Regions from separate parts of the Homo sapiens genome. Here regions 1 and 3 are each linked to region 2. The links are contacts of gene promoters, found by promoter capture Hi-C in blood cells and fetal thymus (Javierre and others, 2016). All regions are on one chromosome and are shown on one strand. Each heading gives the region's core, a stretch centred on a gene start or on the middle of the fragment in contact. The rest is flanking DNA. Distances are from core to core; before and after follow the strand shown.

Region 1 (3,791 bases), core at 308-2,807, 640 kb before region 2:
ACAGCTGTCAAGCCAGGCATCCTCACACATGGAACTTTGAACTGAACATAGACTTACAATTATCTCTATGAAAATTGCATCTTATCATTTGTCAGAAACATTTGCCTCCAGATTGGCTCCACTCTTCTTCTAAATTCTACTGAATCTGCACTCCTTTCAGGCTGTGTCACCCCTAGCTCTGATGAGCCCTTCTTCATCCAAGCATTCTACAAAGCCAAGGTCAGCCTGGGTTACATCAGGTTTCTCTCCTGCTGGGGCCTGGGGTTGTTCAGTTGTCACTTCAAGCTTCCTTCGCAGTTTGGTCACTTCATACTTACCCACTTCCTTCTTGAAGCCACTACACAGTATAGTCAGGCCTAAGCCAGTGGTCTGATGCTAATAAAAATGTCATAATACTTTGTGGTTTTTAAAGCATTTTCCCATATTCTGACTTGATTTTTTTTTTTTTAATTGAGACAGAGTCACTCAGGCTGGAGTGCAGTGGTGCAATCTCAGCTCACTGCTGCCTCGACCTCTTGGGCTCAGGTGAGCCTCCCACCTCAGCCTCCCAAGTAGCTGAGACTACAGGCGTGCCTCATCACACTGGGTTAATTTTTGTATTTTTTGTAGAGACAGGGTTTCACCATGTTGCCCAGGCTGGTCTGGAACTCCTGGGCTCAAACAATCCTTCTGCCTCAGCCTCCCAAAGTGTTGGAATTACGGTGTGAGCCACCATGCCCTGCCTCACTTGATTTTTATCACCCACCACAACCTTAAAAAATTCTATCAACATCACTTTAAGACACTGGGCCACAAATAGGCTCAGAGTATGTTTGTTGTTTATGGCCTAATCAATAATTTCGTAGCTGAAGATTTCTAAATTAAGGAAAGAAGAACTAGTTTAGCTTCCTTCCAACCCTACCATCTTATCAGGAAAACAGTTCCTAAAGCCACTGCCATTCCAGCAGTAACCAGTAGGGACAGAAACAATATTGAAGAATGTTCTAACCATAAGAGTTGTTGGAAAATGGAATAAGTTGCCTTGAGAGGAACTGAAATTCTGATGCTAGCAGTTTTCAAATAGGAGCTAGGGTTTTGTGGAAAGGATTTCTCTGTGGATAGGAGGTTGACAGAATGATCTCTCATTCATTTATTGTTGTCTGTTTGGGATCTTGCTTTGAGCTCAGCTCTCAGAAGTACCTAAGAGACTCCTGGTGGTCAGTGAGTTACCTGTGAAGATTAGAAACCTGCACTTTCTGAGTCTGATCACTTTTCTGTTTGTGCATTTTAAAATTAATCACCTCTTACAAAGCAGTTTTTGGCAAATTTCCTTTTGAAAATGCCAACCCTTTCTCCATTATTCAAAAATGGAAAGAATCCATACAATGGACTGTCATACAGTCATAAAAAGAAATGAAGCACTGATATATGGTACAATATGGATGAATATTGAAAACATTATAAAGTGAAAAAGCCAATTACAAAAGACCACATGCTGTATAATTCCATTCGTAGGAAAGTCCAGACTAGGGAAATCTACAGAGACAAAAAGTGGATTTGTGGTTGCTTAGGGCTGGTGGGGGAACAGGATGGGAAGATGAGAGGGTGAGAACTAGTCTTGAGGTGATGAAAATGTTTGAAAATTTACTGTGGTGATGATTGTACTTATCTGTGAATATACTAAAATCCATTGTACACTGTAAAATGGGCGAGTTGTATGGTATAGGAATTATATCCCATTAAAGCTGTTGGGTTTTTTGTTTTTTTTTTTATAGAAAGTAAGCATACTTTTTTTTTTTTTTTTTTTTTTTTTTTGAGACGGAGTCTCGCTGTGTCGCCCAGGCTGGAGTGCAGTGGCGCGATCTCGGCTCACTGCAATTTCCGCCTCCCAGGTTCAAGCAATTCTCCTGCCTCAGCCTCCCGAGTAGCTGGGATTACAGGCGCACGCCACCACAGCCGGCTAATTTTTTGTATTTTTAGTAGAGGCGGGGTTTCACAGTGCTAGCCAGGATGGTCTCCTGACCTCGTGATCCGCCCGCCTTGGCCTCCCAAAGTGCTGGGATTACAGGCGTGAGCCACCACGCTCAGCCGCAAGTTTTTTTTGTTTTGTTTTGTTTTGTTTTGTTTTTTTAGACAGGTCTGGCCCAGGCTGGAGCAGTGGTGCCATCTCAGCTCACTACAACCTCGGCCTCTCGAATCCAAGAGATCCTCTCACCTCAGCCTCCCGAGTAGCTGGGATTACAGGTATGCGCCACCACACCCGGCTAATTTTTGTATTTTTAGTAGATACGGGGTTTCGCCCTGATGGCCAGGCTGGTCTTAAACTCCTGGGTGATTAAAAAAAAAAAAAAATCCGCCGACCTTAGCCTCCCAAGCCGGGATTACAGGCGTGAGCCACCGCGCCTATTTTTTTATTATTATTATTATTCTTTTTTAATGGATAGAGATTTTATTTGTTTCTAAGCCTGGGCTGCATTTCTACAGGGGACCTATCCCATGCCTCTGAGGATGTCTGTGAGCCAGAGGCGACCTCCCCGGGGCTGGCGAGGAACCCGGCACCAGGACGAGGGGAAGTGGGCGGCCCTTCCCACATTCCAGTTGGCATAGGGTTCCTGTTCTGCATCGAGGGGCTGGATGGGTGAGAGCAACCGAAGCCTGGGCTAGCGCAGGAGATAGACAAGAGCTCCGCCCTCCATCCATTTCTCTGAACGTTCTAGGTCTTGATTTTCACCACTCGCGGGGTAATATTTCCACCCAAAATCTAGCAACGATCCCGTCCATGAAAACAGCTGAAAATCTCCCCTTTGAAAGAACACGTCCAGGAGGCTTTCCATCCCTTAACTAAGCTTGTGCCCGCTTTGCCTACCCCCCCTGGCGATGTGGGGCAGGGCGCATCCGCCGGCGACCACTTGGCCTGATTTCCCGGCCCCCGGGAGGACTTCTGAACCAGGATTTGTGACGTGCCGCTAGGAGAAGGGGCACATGATGGGGAGGGGAACTCTCCGAGCACATTCCCCAAACTGCAAATCTGCCCAGGGACGGCTGGGCGCCTGGGTTGAGGAGAAGGGCCCGCAGTCTTATTGGTCTCTGCAGACAGAAGCGAGGGGGAAGAACTCATCACGAGTTACAAGGGCGGAAAACAGCCGCCCCAGGTCTCCCCACAGCTCCCCGGACGCCCCGCGCTAGGCCTCGGGCCCCAACGCCTGGGAATGGTCGGCGGTGCTTGGGCCCCGCCCGGGGGCGAGGGGCAGCGGCCCGGCCCCAGGCCTCATCTCCGCACCGGGAGCTCGGGCTCACACTGTAGAATGAAGTGCCCTGTAGAATATTCGATCCCCACGGCCAGCTAGGGACCCCGCCACAGTGGAGCGCCTCGCCACCTCCATCCGCCCTCCTGTGGTCCGGGACTAGGTGCAGTTACAGGACCCGCCTAAGAAGAGCACTAGAAGGACGCAGTGGGTGGATGTCCGAGTTCGAGCGGCTGGATGTCGCGCGGTGGCAACAAGTAGCTCGGAAAAGGGGTATTGAGAGTCCACTGCGAGCTGCTTCCTGCTTGCGGCCAATGGGGACGTGCGGCAGAGCAGTTAGAAACAAGAAGGGAGAAGACTAAAGAGAGACTCCTTACTTCTGGCAACGAGATACACAAAAGGGGTTGCGAACATCCAAAAGGGTCTTGCTCCAGGTGAGGCTCGAACTCACAACCTCGGCATTGCTCTGCATGTACTGCTGTATAAGTACCGCGCGCTAACCGATTGCGCCACTGGAGCTCTGCTGAATGGGCCTCGTGATGGCTCTATCAGGGTGCGCTGGCGCCC
Region 2 (3,747 bases), core at 665-3,164:
ACACTCAATTTTTACTTTAGTATAAGATCAGCCCTTCAGCGGACATATAGGACAAGTTTTTCGGTCCAACACTTACTGTGAATAAACCAACGCATGGAGCTAAAAAAGAACCAGGGAAAAATGGATGTCTCTCTAAAAAGAGCCCAACCTAAGTAAGGAATTACAAGACATCAAAGGTTAGATAATGGACAACAGGTGCCTTTGAGGAGGAAAGAGTAACACAACACTCAGTTGCCTCCTATTTTAGGATTTCCACTCTGAAAGCAATATAACGACAATTTTTTCTGCCCAAGAAAAAGGGAAGGCCAAAATTATAGGTTTTACTATTTAATATCTATAATAGGCCCATTGCTCTTTGACTTACTTTTTTACTTTAGATTTTAAAAATCCATCTCATCTCGATATTATCTGGATATAGTACGGCCTATGGCCAGACTGCTCACTGATCAGTGAACATTAACCAAGTAGAGACTTATTATCAAGAAATGTAAAAGAAAGGCGTCTGAATACAAGCTACCTGCACATAAAAAACTCAAAATACAGTTCCAGCAGTAGGTATCACACAACTGCGTTATCAGCCAAAGCTGAAACTGTTTCTCTCACCATTCTAACAGTTGAACTTAATCTTTTACTAGATTTCAATGGCCTCGAAGAATAGTAATTCCAGATTCAGCTTCTAGGGCAGCGAATACTAGCCTGGAGTTTTGATTTTCCTAGCCAGAAGATTACCTTCATCTGGTGAAAGGAACACTGAAAAGGCACTTCAGCCTATTTAATAACCTCTTCCCTTTCTCCATTCCACAAAGACAACATCTTCCAAAAATGGAGAATCCTTTCCTTCCCTGATAGAGGCCCCCTTTCCTATTGATTCATTGGGCAGAATCACTTCTCCCCAGCATGTATGCAGAACCAGAAAACACTTCTGCTTTCACTCTTAAAGAGGGTCCCCCAACACAGATGCACCTCTTCCTTTCCTGCATTAAGCAAATGATGCTCCGATGCTTCTAGGTCTCTCCACCACTGCAAAATGCTCAGAGAAGTGGAGGGATTGAAAAGGAAGTTGCCTACTACTCTGAAGGATACTGGAAAGTCGCCTTCAAATCTAAAGTGAAGACTTGGGGGCGGGGGATGCCCCCTTCCTGAAGAGGGAATGAGGGTCCCTCCCCTAAAAAGGAGCCTCTGTTCGGGTGAAGGCGATCCCCACCCTGAAAGAGAGGCGTGTATGTGGAAAGGTGGTGGAAGGTTGTACCCTGAAGAGGAGCCTGGATTTGAAGAAATGTCCCAACTCTGAAGGGGGGTAAGTGGAGGGAGCCGTGAGTGTACGGGGAGGGGTGTGCCAGCTATCGGGGGGCCTGAGAAGGAAGGGGTTCCCACTTTGGGGGAACGAGGGCCCCGCACTGAAAGGGGCTCCGGGAGGAAAGGAGGGTCTGACACAGAGGAGAGTTGGACATGGGGGAGGGGCCCTCAGTCCACCGGAGTCCGCGGAGGGGCGGCAGCCTCGAAGGGAACATGTGCAGTGGAGCCGCTGCCACCCCGAGGGGCAGGCGGGAGGGCAGGGCCTGGGCTGTGTGCGGAAGGAAAAAAGTTCCTACCCTTCGCAGAAGACGCAGGACTCCCCAGCCGTACTCACCGAGACTGCCGGCGAAACCGTCCATCTTGCGGGGAAAGCGCCGGGCTCCGGGCTTAGAGGGGCGGGCACTTCATTCAGCGGACCGACAGAGTGGCCGACGCTGAGCCTGACCCGCTCGTTCTCTAGGTCGCCCGGCTCGGCTACCGGCTCCCGCCTCCGTCGTCCGTCCGTTCGCCCTGGGGTAGTAAGCCGCGGCCGCCCGAACCACTTCCCCGTCACGTTGAGAGCCGCGCCGCTCAGCCGCCTGCCCGGCCTCCCTCCCAGGCAGCAGCCGCGAGCGCCGCGCCGCGCCGCGCCCCGCCCCGCCCCCGCGCCCGCGCGCAGCAGTAGCCCCGCCCCGCGCACGCCGTCACACTTCCGACTCCGCCTCCCACGTGACGCCACGGAGGCGGGGTCTTGCCAGCCCCGCCCTCTCACCTTGCCTCGGCCTCGGCGTTTGTCCGCCTCGCGCCAGGCTGGTGGTTGCGCCTGCGCGGTAGGCCTGCTGAAGGCTGGGGACCACGGTTTGGAAGCTGGTTCCAAACAGGTGGGGATAAGGCATAGACTCTGGCCTGCGATACTCTGATGCATGAAGGATCCTCTCCCTATGTGGCCCCTGGGAAGCCCGCAGAGCCAAGACTGGACCCCCGTGACGGGAGATGACCACCACGTGGGTCCTACAAGGACACTAAAGAAGCAACCAAGAGGGAGAGGTTCTCCCTCTCCCCCAATAGGGTGGGGGACAAATAGGGGCGAAGCTTCTTGACTAGCTCGATACCACCACTGCCACAGCCGCAGGGCCCGGGACAGATCAGAAGCAAGGAATTTTAGTGCTGGACATGACCCAAAAGTTCATCTTGTCTAACCCTTCTTATGAAGAAAAACACAGAGCCTTAGAGAGGACAACCTGCCCAAGGTCATCGAACCTAGTAGAAGCAAAAACTCAGCCTTCCTTACTCTCCCTAGCGTTCTGTCGTCTAGGGGTGCAAAACGACCATATATGGCAGGCTATAGGATGGCCTGCTAGGGAACCATAATAAGGGTTATTTCAAATGAAGTAACACTGAGTTCTAGGCCCAACTCCGTATGACTCAAGAGTGTCAAATCACCTAATTTATTTAGGCGTCACTTTATTCATTTGCAAATTGGTTGTCTGGACATGTAACCAAAACATGTAAATATACATAGCGTTCATATTCTTCCTCCCTTCCCCAACACGATTTCCCATACTTCTAAAGACTTTCTCATGGTTTGTCAAGTCCCTCCTGGGGCTCAGTTGTGCAGATTAGAGTAAGAGAGAGAAGAGCTGTAAGGTACTGAAGAACTGAATTGATCTATACATAATAAATTGATAAATACATAATAAAAAGCTGAGTTAGGGGAAAACAGAGTCCTACTACACAGAGTTGCAGGAGAGAGGGACAAACAAGAAGGGAGACAAGAAATATGTAATGATGAGAGAGACTTAGAGGAATTAAATGATTGAAAGGATTGTTAAACCTTCTTGGGGTATACGTCTCCCTTTGTTGCCTCTTTAAAAATCTTCCCTAAAAATGTAAATTACTTTGCATTTCTTATTTGGATATAAGACCTGTTTCTGAATACCATACTATATGGAGACTGGCCATAACGCAGCCAAGATAAATTCAGGTTACAGACTAAACGGTGTCTAAAATTTCCTTCTCTTCAAACTTAAATGATTTACCCAATGTTCCTTCTGCTATGGGCATTTTCATATGCATAAGTTTCTATTAAGCCTAAGTAAATGTTTGAGAAGTTCTCAATTCTGACAGCTGTTCCTTTGTGTCTTCAGGCCACACTCTCTGCCTTAGGTCGATTAAAAGAATAAGAACTTGGCATATTGGTATACATATGTTTTATGGTCCAGACCTGGAAGTGTGTACCTCCCTTTTGTCCACATTCCACTGGCCAGAACTTGGTCACATGACTGCAAGGGAGGCTAGGAATGTAGTCTGTGTATCCAGAAGGAAAAGAGACATATTTTGGTAACAGCTCTCTGGTTTCTGCCACACTCCCCTTCGTGGCATTCATCAGAGTTAAAATTTTTCATTTGCTTGAATGATTTATTCAATAAGCATCTCATTCATTATACTGTATACTACAAGGAAAGCTGTTAA
Region 3 (3,405 bases), core at 428-2,927, 530 kb before region 2:
AAATAGGTTGAAGAGGGAGAAAAGGCTTAGAGCAGCACACAGAACTCTGCAATAAATTTCATTTTAATCCTAAAAGAAACTAGGATAGAACAATATACACGTGGTGCTTAATAAACCAATTCTTCCTGAACAAATGAATAAGCAAACTCTGAAAATCTCAACAAAAGGATATAGTACCTTATATTTCTTTTAAATTTTTTGCAGAAACGAGGTTCCCCAAAGTGCTGGGATTATAGGCGTGAACTACCATGCTCAGCCTCATTTAAAACAAAGCAAATGGAAAAAAAAAAAAAATTGGCATTCATTTTGAGATGACAATGATTTCTGAATTCAAAGGATAATAATGATAGAACACTAGACAAACAAAATAATCAAAACCTCTCCATTATTTATCACACATTTACCAAATATGGTTCTAATTGCCATTGGAACCAAGAAAACAATGTAAAATCCTCAACCAAATAAACAACAAACCTCCAAAGAGCAGTATGCATTACCCAAACAAAATCTATAGTTTGAAAAGCTGCTAGCTTTCTGAAACACATTTGCTTCAAATAATACAGCATTTCATAGGTTTTCTGACGCTTTCCCTGCAGCTTTGATTTAATAAAAGTATAGTACATAGTACATTTCTTCCTCTAGTCTTCAGGTTAGTCTATTTGAGGTTTCTCTCACTGGCTCCTTTTTATTGTAGTGGTATAATAGTAAGTCTCATGCTTTGTAGAAGAAGAAAGATACACAAAAGTTCAAATTTTGCTGAAACTGAACAAAATGACATATTCTGCAATGATAAAATTAAGACCAAAACAAATATTTTAAAAGATTTCAATTACTTACTAGGTTGGGATATATACTTGTTTCAGTTTACTCTCAGCTTCTGCTGCTTTTAGACGTTTCTAATTCAAAAGATGAATAAAACATTTTACATGCAATGCCTAATTATTACTACTGTTCATTGTCTTAAAAATTCACAAGAAAATACGTATTAAAGTGTAATTCAAAAATTACCATCTTAAGCTTTTCTTTCATATGCATATTCTTAAACTGCAATAATGTCTAAGAAAAGTCACTAGATTCTGTGGTACACAACTTTAAGTATTAATACAATTTTAGGCATAGGTTTAAAAAAATAAAGCAATGAGCAACTCCATTTTCCATTCCTCTATGACTGAATAAACAGGACCTTTAAAAAGTAACCATTTTTACTTTCCAAATTTAGTTTCTACTTTATTACTTATTTGCCTCTCTAGAAGAAAACACACACACTCTCACTCTCTCTCTCTCTCTCTGCTTTTAGAAAAATATTCAGAGATTATTTATTTCCAAAATCCAGGCAAGAGGAGTGACTGTGGCTATTCTAAGTAGAACTAAATAAGCATTTATTCTCAAATGTTGGGAGATATGCATTAAACTTTAAACCTCAGCTGAATTCACATAATATTCTACTGGAACCAATTAGGAGCCATATGTAGGGAAAGGAAGGGGAAGGAGATTATATAATCAAATCCAGACACTGACCAACATGATAATGCAGGCAAATAGAGAAGTAAAATAACATATGGTTGATGTCCAAAAATAAGACAAACCAGAATATAAGGCTATCTTCTATTTTCCCAATGAGGAGAAAACAGAAATACTTAGGGGGACAACTTGAAACTTTTAGAACAGGGTTGAAGTTTTTGGAAAGAATATTATCTACTTTTCAACCATCCTTGATACCATCATCTCCATCTTTAGAGACTCTTTTTTAATAAAATAGGTTCCCAGACTACATGGTCTTGATCTATACCTAAGTTGTTTATAATAAGCACTTTTTGAATTATATTAATATTGACACTGGAAATTTTTCAACAAGCCATGAGTATCTATTCACTATTTGTGACCTCAGCAATTCACCATGGTACTTTTTGTTTTCAATTTTTATTTATTTTTAGAGACAGGGTCTTGTTATGTTGCCCAGGCTGGACATGAACTCCTGGGCTGAGCAATCCTCCTGCCTCGGCCTCCCAAAATGCTGGGAATATAGGTGCACACCACCATACCCAGCTCACTATGATACTTTAAAAAGTGATTCATAAAATTTTTTTATAGCATCTAATACTTGCCACTGTATAACCTACATATATAGGAAAAATAATGTCTGTGTTAAATATATTTGCCTTTTTATCAGTTCTAATATGTGCCTATACAAACATAACACAAGTATTGACCGATGTCATTTCAGGAAAATGTGCCTTTCCCCAGAGGTAATATTATTCAAAAAATAAGTAATTGAGAGTTACCTGAATTTAGGATATTTGAGAAGGACTCAAAAATTACATTTAAGAAAAAGCTTATGTACAGTACAAAAACACCATACTAGTAAGACTACTACATTTAAGGTCAAGGATTTCGGGGGTATAGCCACACAAATGTCATGTAAAGAGGTTTCAGAAGATCTTTAAAAACATATCAAATTATATGGCTGATGACATTGGTCTAAATACTCAATTCTTCATAAAAATAACTTGTTCAAGAGGTTTGTGTTAGCATCACATCTTTGATCATTGCCATGAACTACAAAGAGATGAAGGATCAGTCAAATGCAAGGAAAATAATGCCTCTCTAGTGGTATCTCTCCAAAATATTTATCATAATTCATGCGAAGTCAAGGAAATATTAAGATTAAAATCTTAAATAATATCCTAAAGATATGAAATCATGTAGTTTAAAGTAGTCTGGAAAAAGTAAGGTAAACAAATTTAAAAGTAGTACATCGCCAAAAAATATTAAAATATAAACAGAAAGTTCACTTAAATGCAACCATATTGGTAGCAATATGAAAAAAATTACCTGTTGCACATATCTGTCAGTAGTTTTCCACATGTAATAATATTCAATGATGCTAGTCAATGATTTCCAAGGAAGCTGAAAAAAAAAAAAATCAACCTATCATCTATGTTAACATATAATAAAATGAGATGAAAATAAGCTACTATAGAAAGTACTTTCCTTAAAAACCACCACTTTCTTTTTTTTTTTTTTTTTTTTTTTTTTTGAGATAGACTGTCACTTTGTTGCCCAGGCTGAAGTGCAGTGGCGCGATGTCAGCTCACAGCAACCTCCGCTTCCTGGGTTCAGGCAATTCTTCTGCCTAGCCTCCCAAGCAGCTGGGATTAGAAGCACATGCCACCATGCCCAGCTAATTTTTTGTATTTTTAGTAGAGACAAGGTTTCACCATGTTGGTTAGGCTGGTCTCGAACTCCTAACCTCAGGTGATCTGCCCGCCTCGGCCTCCCAAAGTGCTGAGATTACAGGTGCGAGCCGTCACACCTGGCCCTTAAAAACCACTTCTTTATTAAAATAATGAAGCAAATATCCACATGGAAGATTCATTCTAGAATATTTGAGAAATTTAAAATTAA

The links. The method cuts DNA at HindIII sites, captures the fragments that hold promoters and counts their contacts. A CHiCAGO score of 5 or more calls a contact.
Region 1: a fragment that was not itself captured here is called in contact with the fragment with the promoter of EML4 in region 2 in 4 of 17 cell types (naive CD8 T cells, naive CD4 T cells, non-activated CD4 T cells and 1 more); the score reaches 8.9 in naive CD8 T cells.
Region 3: a fragment that was not itself captured here is called in contact with the fragment with the promoter of EML4 in region 2 in 1 of 17 cell types (fetal thymus); the score reaches 5.7 in fetal thymus.

The regions. Positions count from the first base shown.
Region 1 is chr2:42,810,488-42,814,278 of GRCh38, reverse strand. TRI-TAT2-1 (tRNA-Ile (anticodon TAT) 2-1) reads right to left here and starts at 3,743; the gene lies at 3,651-3,743. RefSeq lists enhancers at 2,800-2,879, 2,910-3,009 and silencers at 3,090-3,379, 3,670-3,791. The HindIII fragment of the contact is 2,540 bases long and covers 288-2,827 here.
Region 2 is chr2:42,167,520-42,171,266 of GRCh38, reverse strand. EML4 (EMAP like 4) reads right to left here and starts at 1,914. Exons shown (of 23, transcript NM_019063.5): 1 at 1,631-1,914. The coding sequence starts at 1,655. EML4-AS1 (EML4 antisense RNA 1) reads left to right here and starts at 1,036. Exons shown (of 4, transcript NR_110584.1): 1 at 1,036-1,297. RefSeq lists silencers at 1,903-1,962, 2,063-2,112 and enhancers at 1,528-2,180, 2,193-2,332. The HindIII fragment of the contact is 2,496 bases long and covers 1-2,369 here.
Region 3 is chr2:42,695,267-42,698,671 of GRCh38, reverse strand. MTA3 (metastasis associated 1 family member 3) reads right to left here. Exons shown (of 17, transcript NM_001330442.2): 10 at 2,833-2,907; 11 at 838-896. Among named protein-coding and RNA genes, the nearest start is that of OXER1, 67 kb to the left of the region's middle. The HindIII fragment of the contact is 1,315 bases long and covers 1,020-2,334 here.